Linked DNA regions of Homo sapiens: regions 1 and 2 are each linked to region 3. The links are contacts of gene promoters, found by promoter capture Hi-C in human tissues and cell types (Jung and others, 2019). All regions are on one chromosome and are shown on one strand. The core of a region is centred on a gene start or on the middle of the fragment in contact, and the rest is flanking DNA. Distances in the headings are between cores, read along the strand shown. Region 1 overlaps ATOSA (atos homolog A). Region 2 overlaps ONECUT1 (one cut homeobox 1). Region 3 holds the start of MYO5C (myosin VC).

The links. The method cuts DNA at HindIII sites, captures the fragments that hold promoters and counts their contacts. A contact is called where the count stands out against the background at its distance.
Region 1: a fragment that was not itself captured here is called in contact with the fragment with the promoter of MYO5C in region 3 in 2 of the 25 tissues and cell types used here (dorsolateral prefrontal cortex and lymphoblastoid cells).
Region 2: a fragment that was not itself captured here is called in contact with the fragment with the promoter of MYO5C in region 3 in 1 of the 25 tissues and cell types used here (lymphoblastoid cells).

The regions. Positions count from the first base shown.
Region 1 is chr15:52,592,615-52,597,442 of GRCh38, reverse strand. ATOSA (atos homolog A) reads left to right here. Exons shown (of 13, transcript NM_001385016.1): 10 at 3,707-3,865. Among named protein-coding and RNA genes, the nearest start is that of ARPP19, 26 kb to the right of the region's middle. The HindIII fragment of the contact is 3,446 bases long and covers 1,591-4,828 here.
Region 2 is chr15:52,772,696-52,777,195 of GRCh38, reverse strand. The region is part of intron 1 of ONECUT1 (one cut homeobox 1); the gene reads left to right. Among named protein-coding and RNA genes, the nearest start is that of ONECUT1, 15 kb to the left of the region's middle. The HindIII fragment of the contact is 4,815 bases long and covers 1-3,861 here.
Region 3 is chr15:52,293,684-52,298,240 of GRCh38, reverse strand. MYO5C (myosin VC) reads left to right here and starts at 2,437. Exons shown (of 41, transcript NM_018728.4): 1 at 2,437-2,631. The coding sequence starts at 2,605. LOC105370819 (a long non-coding RNA gene) reads right to left here and starts at 3,357. Exons shown (of 4, transcript XR_932250.3): 1 at 3,030-3,357. RefSeq lists a silencer at 2,614-2,773 and an enhancer at 4,215-4,384. The HindIII fragment of the contact is 3,447 bases long and covers 345-3,791 here.

The sequences.
Region 1 (4,828 bases), core at 2,064-4,563, 300 kb before region 3:
TCGTTTTTATTACTGTTGTATGGATAGACCACAGTTTGTTTATTCATTCACCTGATTTTAGACATTTGGGTTGTCACCACTTCGGGGTTATTAAAAATAAAGCTGCTATAAACATTTGTGTATGAATTTTTATGTGGACATAAATTTTCATTTCACTTGGGTAACTACATTAGAATAGAACAGAATAGAATAGAGAATAGAATAGAATAGAATAGAATAGAATAGAATAGAATAGAATAGAATAGAATAGAATAGAATAGAATAGAATAGAATAGAACAGAACAGAACAGAATAAAATAGAATAGTTTAACTGTTAAGAAACTGCCAAGCTATTTTCCAAAGTGATTATACCATTTTAATTTGCATCAGCATCGTATGAGAGTTCTAGTTCTTCCACATCCTTGCCATTGTTTGCACTGATCAGTCATTTTCATCTTAATTATTGTGGTTTTAATTTGTATTTCCCTGATGACTATTGATGTTGATCCTCTTTTCCTGCACTTACTTGCCAAATAAGCATATATGTTTTCCAAATATTTTTTCCAAGTCTGAAGTTTGGCTGTACATTTTTGTGATAGTGTCTTTACAAGAGTAAAAGATTTTAAGTTTTTTGATGTCGAATTTTCTTTATGAATCTTACTTTTGATGTTGAATCTAAAAAAACATTGCCTAGCCCAAGGCTTCTTTACACTAATACTGTTGATATTTGAGTTAGATAATTCTTCTGAAGGGCTGTTTGTGCATTGTGGGATGTTTAGCAGAATCTCTGGCCTCTACCCACTTGATTCCAATAGTACCCCCATGCCTAGTTCTAGCAACCAAAAATGTCTTCATATATTACCATATATCCCCTGGGTGAGAACCACTGGCCCAACCCAAGGTCACAAAGCTTTTTTTCTGTTTTCTTCTGAAAGTTTGTATTAGCTCATACGTTTAGATCTGTGATCTATTTTGAGTTAATTTTTACATGATAGGAGGTGTGCGATCAAGGTTCCCTTTTACGCATATGGATGTTCAATTTTCTAGTCTTGAAATCAGGTAATGTGAGTCCTAACTTTATTGTTCTTTCTCAGAATTGCTTAAACTATTCTAGCTCCTTTATCTTTTCATATAAATTTTAGAATCATCTTGTCTATTTCCACAAAATAGCCTGCTGAGATTTTGTTTGGCCTACATTAATACAGGTCGATTGGAGGAAAATTGACATCTTAAAAATATAAAGTCTTTCAATCCCTGAAATTCATTTATTTATATATTCTTTTATTTGTTTCATCAGTGTTTTATAGTTTTTAGCATGCATATCTTGGACATCTTTTTTATTTTTAATAGGGGTAGGGACTTTTCTCTGTCACCCAGGCTGGAGTGTAGCTGCGTGATCATACCTCACTGCAGCCTGGATCTCCTGGGTTGAAGCATTCATCCCACCTCAGCCTCCCAAGTAGCTAGGACTCTACGCTTGTACCACCACACCCAGCTAATTTTTTAAAAAATTTTTGTAGAAATAGGGCCCTGCTGTGTTTGCACAGGCTTTTCGTAAACTCCTGGCCTCAAGCAGTCTACTCACCTCAGTCTCCCAAACTGCTGGGATTACAAGTGTAAGCCACCACGCCTAGCCCAGATTTTTGATATCTTTTTGTAGATGTATACCTAAGTATTTCATGTTTTCTGGGATATTGTAACTTAAAAATTAATTGTCAATTGTTCATTGCTAGTATTTTTAAATGAATGTATGTGTGTGTGTGTTATCTACAAAAAATCGCCAGTGATCTTGCTCAACTCACTCACTAATTTCAGTAGATTTTAAAAAATAATCCTTGGGATTTTTCTACATAGACAGTCTTGTCATCTATAAATAGGGATAGTTTTGGCTTTTTTATTTTCGTGCCTTTTTTTTTTTTCTTGTCATACTGCACTGAGTGGGGCCTAGCATATATGCTTGTATATTAAATTTACAAAAATCTAAAATATCTCAGATAAAGTCAGCAACTAATATTGGTCATTTGCCTTAATCCATAAACATTTTTGTATGTACCTCTCCTATGAAAATTTTTTGCACCTTCAGAATAGACTTTTTATTTGGGAAATATTTGTTGAGTACTTACTATGTGCTAGGAATACAAAGTTTAAATGATAAAGTTCCTGCCTTAGAGACGTTTATTGTCTACTGGAGAAGGTGGGCATATAATTTACCCAGGTGAGTAAATAATTTATAAACTCAAGTAATTAGCATTGTAATAGAAGTTGCCTAGTACTTGTGTATCTACTATCTCTGCTAAAAGGATTGAGGAAAGCTTTACTGAGGAGCTGTCATTTGAGCTTGGTCACAAAAGATGAGAAGGAATTTGCCAGGTAAATTTGTTCAGGAATCAGAGATTCTAGACAAAGGGAACTTCATGTGCAAACGTAAAAGAGCATGGCAATGTTGGAAAGGATCAACTGGAGCTAGAGCATGGGACTCTGTATATGTTGGGAGAGATGAAATGAGAGGCATGGTGGAGCTTAAGTGCTGTGCTATGAATGTTGACCTCATCCTATAGACAGCAGGAAACAAAGTTTTTAAGTGGTAGGTGATACTATAAGGCTTTTTTCAAAAAAAGAAAAAGAACTCTGGCAGTAGTACAGAGGATACACTACAGATGGAAAGACTAATTAGAAGATGTAGCATTTATTCAGAGGAGAGGTTATGAGGATCACCTAGGTCACTAGGATAGTGGTAGTAGTGGGGATGGAAATGAGGCCCTGAGACTGAGAGGTAAAATCAACAGGATATGGATTGGATTGATTAGAGGGCAAAAAGGAGATATAGAAGGTTGATTGTGACCCAGGTCTTTTGGCTTTATCTTTTTGATCAGGAGATTAGAATTGCTGATATGTCACTGTTTCACATTTAGACTACACAAACTTTTAGAATCATGAGGCTTTGTAGCATTTCTTTTCAAAGAATTAATCAAAGGAATGCTACTCACATTTCATGATGTATACATATATGTGTTGATATATTTATATAAAATAAAGCTTGTGAAAAGTTTTAAATGTTTCTCATAAGTGGGAAAATAACCACTAAATTTTAAAAGTAGTTATCTCAGTGAGTGACCTTGGGGGAGGGATGGATAAGGAGCTTCTGTACTATTTCTGTACTTCTAAACTTTTTATAAATGCACATTTTTATGTTTTAAACTAAAACATATCACATACTACAGTATTTATAAGAGAAGCAATTATTTCTCGGTTAGAATTATAAGTGCTTGACTTCATCTTTTGATGGAACTTCCATATATAACCTGTTAGGTTTTCAGGTGTTTCTCTGTGTCTAGCACCATGAATAGGCACTGTGAGGGATAAATACCTGCTCTGATAGAGCATATTTTTAAATTTACAGATATAAAAACAACATAGTAAACAATTAGGCCTAACTAATGCTGAAGTTGCAGGAGAGTTCAGTGTGAGTTGGAATAGTGAGAGAAGACCAAACTGTTGTAGGATGGTAGAAGACTGATGGGAGATGCAGTTGACTTCAAGTCAGATGAAAAGCAGAAATAAGGACATGGCAATGGTAACAACCACTGTTCTAGTGCTAGAAAGCATAGTAATATATTTCTTTTAATCACTTCTCTGCCTTTAGACTAAGTGTATATTTCTTTAAATAGAAAAAAAATGAATGTGTTAGCTTTTTTAATTGAGTTTTTAAAATTATTTTGTCTTCCAGGAATCTGTCTTGAACTATCGTTTCGATCCTCTCGGCATTGTTGATGGTTTTACTGCCGAGGTAGGGGCAAGTGGTGCTTTCTGCCCCACACATTTGACTCTTCCAGTTGAAGTGTCATTCTACAGTGTTTCAGATGACAATGCTCCCTCTCCTTATATGGCAAGTATTTTTTATATTGTATGTTTTCCTGCCAAATCAACCAACTTAATGACAAATTTAAGTGCTTTGATGCAGTACTTGAAAATATAAATCATTTCCTAACAGCTGAATACAAACTAATATGCCAAAATATTACCTCACAACTTCTTTCTAAGCTAGTTCAAACAACAGATAACCTCTTTTGCATTTAAGGATGGTACTAAAAATGTACTTATTTCTCTTTGTCTTGAAAAAATGATAAAAATTGATTAGTGACACTGTAATTCCATCTTGCTGAGTTCACACACATTCTCAAATGCTTAGTGTGCACTGTGTCCTCTAGTCCTACAAGGCTTTGGTGACATAAGGCTTCTGTATGGCCCTTTTACTCCCTTTTCGGTTTGGTTTGTCTTTGGGCCTATTTTTTTCTAATCCTAGGGTTCTTTTTTTTTTTTGACAGCATCTCACTCTCTTGCCTAGGCTGGAATGCAGTGGTGCAGTCATAGCCCACTGTAGCCTCAAACTTCTGGCCTCAAACCATCCTCTTGCCTTGGAGCTCCTAAATAGCTGGGTCTACAGATATGCGCCACCATGCCTAGCTAATTTTTATGTTTTGTAGAGGCAGGGCCTCCCTATATTGCCCAGGCTGGTCTTGAACTCCTGGCCTCAAGCAGACCTCCCACTTTGGCCTTCCAAGTGTTGGGATTACAGGCATGAGCCACCACAACTGGCCTAATCCTAGAGTTCTTTAGGATACTAGCTACTTCAGACTCACGCTAATGTCTTAATGGAGAGTGAAATAACTAAGAGGAGTTACAGCAAGCTTGTCCGGCCTACAGCCCACATGCAACCCAGGAAGGCTTTGAATGTAACCCAACACAAATTTGTAAACATTCTTAAAACATTATGAGATTTTTTTGTGTGATTTTTGTTTTTTAGCTCATCAGCTATTGTTAGTGTTAGTATATTTTATGTGTGGCCCAA
Region 2 (4,500 bases), core at 205-2,704, 480 kb before region 3:
GTATAACTGTGTGTTTGTGTGTGTTTATAAAATCTTTTACTTCTTTTGATCTTTTTGAAATCAAAAGTTCACTCAAAACTTCAAGATCCTTAGAGGAATAATTGATTCAACATGCTCCTCCATCTAAAAAAGTTATTAATGTTCTATAGGTCCTCACTACTCAAAGTGTGGCTCCCTAAACAGCAACATCGACCTCACCTGGGAACTTGTAAGAACTGTAGACCCTCAGGTTCCACCCCACACCTACTGAACCTGAATCTGCATTTCAGCAAGACCCCCAGGAAATTCTTGTGTCCATTAAAGTCTGAGAAGCACCACTGATGGCCATGTTACATCACTCAAAAGGTCTGTTTTCCTTCATTCGCCCAAACACTGATCGGGTGCCTCCTATGTGCCAGGCACTAGGCTGAGTACAGGGGCACGAAAGAGGAATGAGGTGTTTATTGTATCCTGAAGGAGCTCACAGGGAGGAAGCATGCAGGAAAATAAATACCGACAAAGTCTCTGATCTGGGTAGAAATAAAGTTCTGTGGGAGCAGCCAGGAAAACTGGAAAGGAGACTGAAAGGAGATGACAAAGGACCTGGTGTGTTGGTGCAGCCCAAAGGAAGTTGTGACCTGTTGTGGAATGAAATGGTCAGATTTGTGCTTTTGAAAGCATGCTGGAGAGGAAGATAATGGGAGGAAAAGTCGCAAGGGACTAGCTAGAAGTGGCAATAGATTCTGAGGGTCTGATTATATGTCATTGTCAGCAAAGGTGGAGAAAATGGGTGGCAAAATTTGAGAGCTATTTCTAAAGTCGAGTAGACATGGTGGAGAGTGAAAATGGAAATGGAACAGGCTCCTTGCTTCTGGCATGGGAAGCTGGGTGCTTGGATATACCTTTAGCTGCAGAGTGGTTATGTGGATGTCAATATAAAGATGGAATGTTTCAGAATAGTTCACCCTCTCAAATACATTCCTACGATAGGTGGGCTCTCTGGCTTCTGTACAGATTTGAGGCATCCAATCAGTTAGATTGTTTCTGCCTCACCGGAACCTGTTACTTACTGAGAGAGACATGATGTGAGCACGATGCTAATGAGGTGAAGATTGTGGGTCCTTTGGGTCCAGTTTTCACTTCCCGGTGTTGGTGGGCAGTGATGGTTACTCACATTCCATCCAGCCACTTCCCTGGGTACAAGGAGCCCTGAAGAACCAGTGGAAGGGGTTAGCCCAAATCCATCCCTGCTGTTAGAGAAACAAAAGTAACTCCCCAGTAATGGTAGCTCAAGAGCTGTCTATCTATAAACAAAGAGAACAGCAGAGTAGACAGAAGCACAGACATGTAGGTGGGGCAGACAAATGTTGGAAAGTCTTGGTTTGAGTCACTTACAAATCTATCTGTGATGGAAACTAATCAGTTTAATGGCAAGCATATTTTCATAAGAAAACACATTTTACTTTCCTCCGATCTAGTTATTTTCACAGTTGTTCCATAAGCAACAGACTTTTTTAAAGAATTGTTTTTAATTAATAAATATTTTGAACATATACTAAATGCACATCATTATTTTAATTTGAACAGCATGAAAATGTATACAGAAAAAAACAAGTTTTCCTCCCAATCATATTCCCTAAGTCCCCAAGTCCCCCTCCCTTAGAAGAAACCCCTGTTACCAGTTTCTTGTATATTCTTAAGAGATAGTCTATGGCTCTTTAAGAGTGTGTGTGTGTGTGTGTGTGTGTGTGTGTGTGTGTGTGTTCCTCTTTAAAAATAATCAAGGGCCTCTCCCATCTCCCAAAAGATAACTTTCTAGGGAAAGTACTAAATGGCTCTTACTTCTTTTAATTATTTGGCCAGAAAATTGCCTCCCTAGAAGATGCTGCCCAGTGCAATTATCTGAGTAATGAAATTAAAAGAGAAGTAGTACAGGGTGACCACCCCTCTGCGTAGGTTGAAAATGCTCCCAAGTGCTTCAGTGGTGGTCCCCTTATTCTAGCTTATTCTAGCTCTTTTTTTTTTTTTTTAGACAGTCTTGCTCTGTCACCCAGGCTGGAGTGCAGTGGCGCAATCTCAGCTCACTACAACCTCCGCCTCCTGGGTTCAAGTGATTCTCCTGCCTCAGCCTCCCGAGTAGCTGGGATTACAGGTGTGTACCACTGCACCAGGCTACAATTTGTATTTTCAGTAGAGACAGAGTTTCGCCATGTTAGCCAGGCTGGTCTTGAACTCCTGACCTCAGGTGATCTGCCCACCTCAACCTCTTATTCTAGCTCTTTTATGAAAGACAATTCAATGTGTGAAAGATGTTCAAAATGCAAGCTTATAAAACATTATATCTACCATACAGTTTCCTCTTTTAAAGTAATAAATACACTCAGACACAACTACAATATCATTTTGGAGCACTACCCTCAACACAAGGGTGGAGATTTTTTCCAAAAAGTTAATTATTGTACCGCTTATATATACTTTTTTGAATTCTGCTTTTGTCATGACATAGCCTTAGTAAATTTTTTTTAACATTTGTTTGATACTTACCATGTTCAAGCACCTTGTATCTTATTTCTTAATTTATGTTTTAATTTCAATGCTTTTTTAAAAGGTAACTTCTGGCCAGGTGCGGTGGCTCACGCCTGTTATCCCAGCACTTTGGGAGGGCGAGGTGGGAGGATCACGTGAGGTCAGGATTTCAAGACCAGCCTAAGCAACATGGTGAAACCCCGTCTCTACTAAAAATACAAAATTAGCTGGGCATGGTGGCGCTTGCCTGTAGTCCCAGCTATTTGGGAGGCTGAGGCAGGAGAATCACTTGAACCCTGGAGGCGGAGGTTGCAATGAGCCAAGATCAAGCCATTGCACTCCAGCTTGGGCAACAAGAGCGAAACTCTGTCTCAAAAAATAAATAAATAAATAAATAAATAACTTCATTTCTTGTTGCAAATTATTAGTATTATATACATCCTTTGAGCTGGAGCTGCAGGGTAAAACACTAATAAAGAAAAAAAATAAAAGAATCACCCACAGCACCCCACACAGATAACCCTCTGTGTGTGTGTGTGTGTGTGTGTGTGTGTGTGTGTGTGTGTGTATCCTTCCAATCTTTTCCCTATGGGATGGTACATACTACTACTTTGTAACTTTTCAAACTAAAAAATCCCATTATTAAATTTATGGTGGAGTATTTGAAAACACATAAAAGAATAATGGAGACAATAAAAAATCTCTGGTAATTCCATCATCCCTGTCCTTTCCCAAATATATCATGAATAGCATTCATTTATTCAACATATAGATAGAGAGAGAGGATATTTGCAAGAGCCTTCCTTCTCTCTCATTATCCATTTATGATTGGAGTGGACTCAGGCATTCCTTTTTTTTCCAGTGGCTTACAATTCATTACTGTACTTAACTATTTTGGTGCTCAAATTGTCCCAGATTTCACTGACGAGAGCCCTTTCCCTCTGACTCCTGTGTCCCTATGACAATGCTTACATTTTTTTTTAACTTTCTGGCATCATAAGATGTTCCAAGCTCATTTGGTACATATTCTGCCCCAATCCTAGAATGTGCCACTTCTTTGATGAGCCCTGGTTTATCCTGGTGGGGAAACATGTTAGAGTCCAAGACAGCCTAGGCACTAAGTGTGCTCATGGCTTTAGGGTGACTTTTGGTTTTCTACCCTCTCAGACAAAGCCAGGAAACAGATACATATACATTTATTTACACACACATACAAATATGTGTATACACATCATACATACATAATATCCATGTACGCATAAACATGCTTATATACGTGCTCATGTACGTATTTCTAAAATCATTAGTTCATACCAGTACCTCCACCTCCAATTGCAATATATCCTCAGAGGATTTTTCCCTGCCTTCCCCCATTCCCTATTTATATGTCTTTTCCTGCACAGTGGGAACTCTGGTACCCAGTAATCTACCTCTCTCTCTCTCTCTTTCTCTCTCTCTGTCTCTCTCACACACACATTTACTCATTTGCTCAATCCTGTAATACATCTAAAATCATTTCAAAATTGCTTTGCCCATACCCATAAAATAAACAAACCTGCTTAAAAATGTTTTAGTTAAGATTCATTTGCAGTTCTCTCTCCCCACCCCACCTGCCATACCCACGCCCCAGCATCACTTGGGAGCTTGTTAGAAATCCTATGGAATCAGAAACTCTGGCTAGAAACTCTGGCTTGTCACGTTTTAACAAGCCCTGGAAGTGATTCTAATGCATGTTACAGCTTGATAAGCACACGCCAAAATATGCAGCTTGGGTTTGTTATATGCGTATGTGTGTGTGCACTCATGCCACGTCTTATTATATAAAATAACACTTTAAACATCCTCTAAATGTAACAACCCTAAAACAAGCCCAGTACAAACTAATAGGGTTCCTGTCACAGCATGGGTGTGGAGCTGCAGAAATTAAAACAAAAACAACAAAAACCCTCCAGTTCTTTAGTTCATCTCTTGGAGCCAGCCCGGTGGATAATAAGG
Region 3 (4,557 bases), core at 1,188-3,687:
GTTTTGGGATATCGGTAATGTTCTACGTCTGGATCTGGGCGGTGGTTACTTTGGTGTGTTGATGTGTTCCATGAATAAGAATATATTGAGCTGTACACTTATTATTTGCACACTTTTCTGTATATAATTTTATTCTTCAATAAAAATTTTCTTTAAATAAAAAAGGCAGCTAGATTCTCTTTTTAACTCTGAGCAATCAGGCAGCTGTCACTACTCACCTTATAGATTTTCTTTTTCTTTATACAAAATAGAATTATTTGGGCAATAATATAAATAATTTTGTATATAAATAAATGCAAAATTAAATTTACCATGATCCTCTCTTTGTGGCATTTATCATTATTGATCCATGCCAGGCCTCTCTTTATATTTTTTGATCCCCTTTTTGAAATCTCCGATTCCATTTCTCTCCCTCATAGGTATCCACTCTTGCATATTTAATGAATGACTTTGTAATTTATCCTCCTTACCTCTATTCACACATACTTGTACCCATGAACAATATTCAGTATTGCAGTTTTTGTGAGTTTTTAAATATTAAAGACTTGGGCTAGACATCTATTCAACATTGTTTTTTATTTCTGAGTCAAGTAGATCATGTCTATTCCTACTAACAGCTGTAGAGTTTTACATGTATATACTATTTCTTTTTTTATTTTTCTCTGCTGTCTGCCATGTATATACTATTTTATTTATTCCCCTATTGATATTTAGATGCTTCCAACTCTTTGATAAATAACTATGTTGTGATGAACATCTACTTAACTGTCTCTTTGGGTGACTGTGAGAATTTTTCTGCCTACATTTATTTTCATAACTATTCTCAAATTGCTCTCCAGGATGGCAGTATATTCCCACCAGTTATGTAAGCAAAAAAAGTTTTTATTTTTTTTATTTATTTTTTTTTTTTTTTTGAGACGGAGTCTCGCTCTGTCGCCCAGGCTGGAGTGCAGTGGCGCAATCTCGGCTCACTGCAGGCTCCGCCCCCTGGGGTTCACGCCATTCTCCTGCCTCAGCCTCCCGAGTAGCTGGGACTACAGGCGCCCGCCACCTCGCCCGGCTAATTTTTTGTATTTTTAGTAGAGACGGGGTTTCACCGTGTTAGCCAGGATGGTCTCGATCTCCTGACCTCGTGATCCGCCCGCCTCGGCCTCCCAAAGTGCTGGGATTACAGGCGTGAGCCACCGCGCCCGGCCAAGTTTTTATTTTCTCACATCCTAGGCAGTATCTGAGATTGTCTAACCTAAATGTTTTTGCCAATATGATGGGTAAAAAGCAATATCTCATTGTTGTTTTCATTTGTATTTATCTGATTACTGCTAAAGTTGACATCTCCTTGTATGCTAACAAGCCATTTAAGTGTCCCCATCTGTGAATTGCCTATTAATTTTTGTCAGTTTTAAAAATTGGATTTCTTTTCTTTAACCGATTAACAATTCTTCTATATGGAAACTACTATAACCCAACATTTTAAAGATATTATCCCTCTTTTATTCCTAATAATTTCCCGGTTTTAAGTTTTAATCGTGAATCCATCTGGAGCTTATTTTTGGATGCAGTGTTTGCCACGGATCTGCTTTTATTGTTTTTCCATATAACGGGCCCATCTAATAAATATTATTTTATTTCCCTATCTGGTCCTTAAGGCTACCGTATAATGTAGGGCCCTGCTGGGGGGCTCCAGCATGTTCCATTACTCACGTATCCGTTCTCACGCAAGTGTCACACTGTTTTAATGACTACTGCTTTGTTATGTCCCTAAATATATGGCAGGACAAATCTCTCCTCTTTGAGAATTGTCTTAGTTATACAGGGCTTTTATTCTATATGAAATATAGAATCATTGTACAATTCTCCAAAAGTTCTGTAGGATTCTGACGCCAATATATTAGGCATATATATTGATTTGGGTAGAAGTGACACCTTGACCATATTAAATATTCCCAGCCAGGAAAATGGCATGTCTCCCGTTTACCTGGGCCTTCTTTTAAGCTCTTTAAGAGAATTTTAAACATTTTCTCCACAAAGGCCAAGGGCATTTTTGCGAGTGTAATCTCTGGATACTTTATATTTTCACTAATATTGTAAATATCTTGTATTGCATAGACAATGCTCATATAAAGGACCATTACTTATTTTTGTATTTGATTTTGAATACGATGACCTTGCTGGACTCTTAACACATTTCTTTGTGTTCAGTACGTTGATTCCCTTGGGTCTTCCATTTAAATGGTCGTATCCTCTGCTCTTTGAGGAGCTAACACTCGGGCCGGGCAGCCTCCGGATGCATCTGTTCCTGCCTGGCAGCGCGCCCCGGGCCCCAACCTTCTCCACCCGCGCTCCCGCCAGGTGCAGCCGCCCGGCCCCGGCCAATGGCAGCGCCGACTAGCCGGGCCAAGCTTGGAGGGACCAATCCCGCCGCTGCCCCCTCCCCTCGCCGCCAACTCGGGAACGGGAACAGGAGGCCGTTGGAAAACTTTGGGCAAGATGGCCCGGCGGTGATTTCCGCGGCGGTCTCTCCTGCGCCCGGCCTCTGCGGCGCAGGCCCAGCCCCCGAGCCTCGCACGTTCGGCAGCCCCGGCCTGGCCCCGGCCCCTCCTGCCCATGGCGGTGGCCGAGCTGTACACGCAGGTAGGAGGGTCCGCTGGGCTCCTGGGAGCGCTGTGGGGGAGCCGGCCCTGCTAACGCTGACTCGACCTGGCGCCCGGGCCACACCTGCCACACCTGCGCACCTGACACGGCAGGGCGGGCGGGCGCGCGCTGGGGGCCGCGGAGGCGCCGCGGAGGGGCCACGGGGACCGGGGACACGAGCGAGCGTCGCCCCTCCAGGGCCCCGGCGTGCTCCGTCCCTGCCCGCGGGTAAGCCCCCTCCTGGCTCCGCTGCGCCTGGGTGCCCTGTGGGTGGGAAGACCCTGTGGGAGGGGCCGCCCCCTCCGCCGCTCCGGCCTCGGGGCCTAGAATCCCCAGTGCCCAGGGGTCGCGCGTGCGTCCCCATCTCCCGGGACTGGAGCGCCTCGGTCCCTTCCTACCACACCACGGGTGGAATCAGAGTTGCCCATGCGGACGTAGGAAGCTGAGACGCCGGCCAGTCTCCTGGCCCCTCCTGGGACCCCCTTGAACGAGCTGGCATAGAAGCTTATGGCCGCAGTGTTCGGGCTGCTTTCTAGAATTCTGTGTCTTCAAAGTGCGTGAACGTGCATGTAGGCTCATCAGAAGCTGAAGCAGCCTGGGTCACAGGCTTGAGGGCACTGCAGTGGCACCAAGCGCTTGGGGAGCCCAGGGGCCACGAGGTGCAGTCGTAGGCTCTTTGCCTAACATCTGTACTGTTAGCAACAGTACAAACACCACAGTTTCTAAAGCGCCTTTCATATACCCTGACTCTGGGAAACACTAGAGCATTCCTCAGAAGCTTCCTTTCTGCTGGCTGGGGCTCCACCTCTTACCTCGGAAGGGCAGCGTTCCCACATATGTCCCAAACCCTCTGAGATGGGCTTGGGTAATTATTTGGATAAAGAGTGTGACAGTGTTAGCACTTTTGAAAAAAAAAATCCATTTGAATAGCCATAAAGCCTGATCCTCCTATACACCAGTTGGGGAAATCTAGAGACCTCAGTATTCAGACGAGTGGAACTAGAATCCATCCATTTCCCCGGACACATGCTCTAGCTTTCTACTTTAAAAGATGCTTTTGCTGTAGATAGAAAAGATAGTTATTTAAAAAATCATGTTTCAATGGTTTAAGCAAACGTTTTTCTTCTACTTTGATTACTTAGTAACAGTCCGGACACAAAGCAACCGAACTGTAGTTTCTCCTCTATTGCATCTCCATTAACTGGAGTTCTAAATGGACAGTGTTTGAATTGCCCTAGTTTTGTTCTAGAATATTTTCACCAGTGAGACTGTGAGCCCTCAGACAGCCAACAGCGCTTCTTCAGCCTTCAGTTTACTGGAAGTGAAAGAAAAGTCTTGGACTAGTCTTCGACGATACTTTGGAGGACAGAGAAAAATGCTGCTGCTGAACCTATTTGAGGTGACAGTATTTCCAGAAGCAGAAACACACAGGTGCAAGCACCCCTATTTTTAGGTGCCTCAAACCTCAGATATTTATTAAATGTCTAGTAAGTACCAGGCACAATGTAAGAAAACTGATAGGAAGGAGTTTAAAGGTACAAGCTTGGAGGGAATGAGAATCTGAGAATCCCAGAGACTGACGCAGCCTGATGGCCATTCCCACTGACCTTGTGTCCACGTAGACACCTGTGTTCCTAGGCTGCCACCTCCCTTCCTGGTGGGCAGTTAGCCCCCATTTTGTCTGTTCTGGAGGTGTGAAGGGGAGGGCCATGGCAGCCAGAGAGCGAGGTCAGGGCTTTATTCCCCAGTGTGGGTTTTGAGTGGGGGCTGGCAGAATCAAGGGTGGTGTGTTAGGACTGTTAGATTTGTTATGTATGCCAGCAGCGCCCTTGGGCTGTGGAGGAGAGAGGCCGGGGTCACGTAGCTGAATTCTCAGGTCATTCCAGCTGTTGGAAAAGAATTAGAGCTGCAGTGTTGGCCATGGAG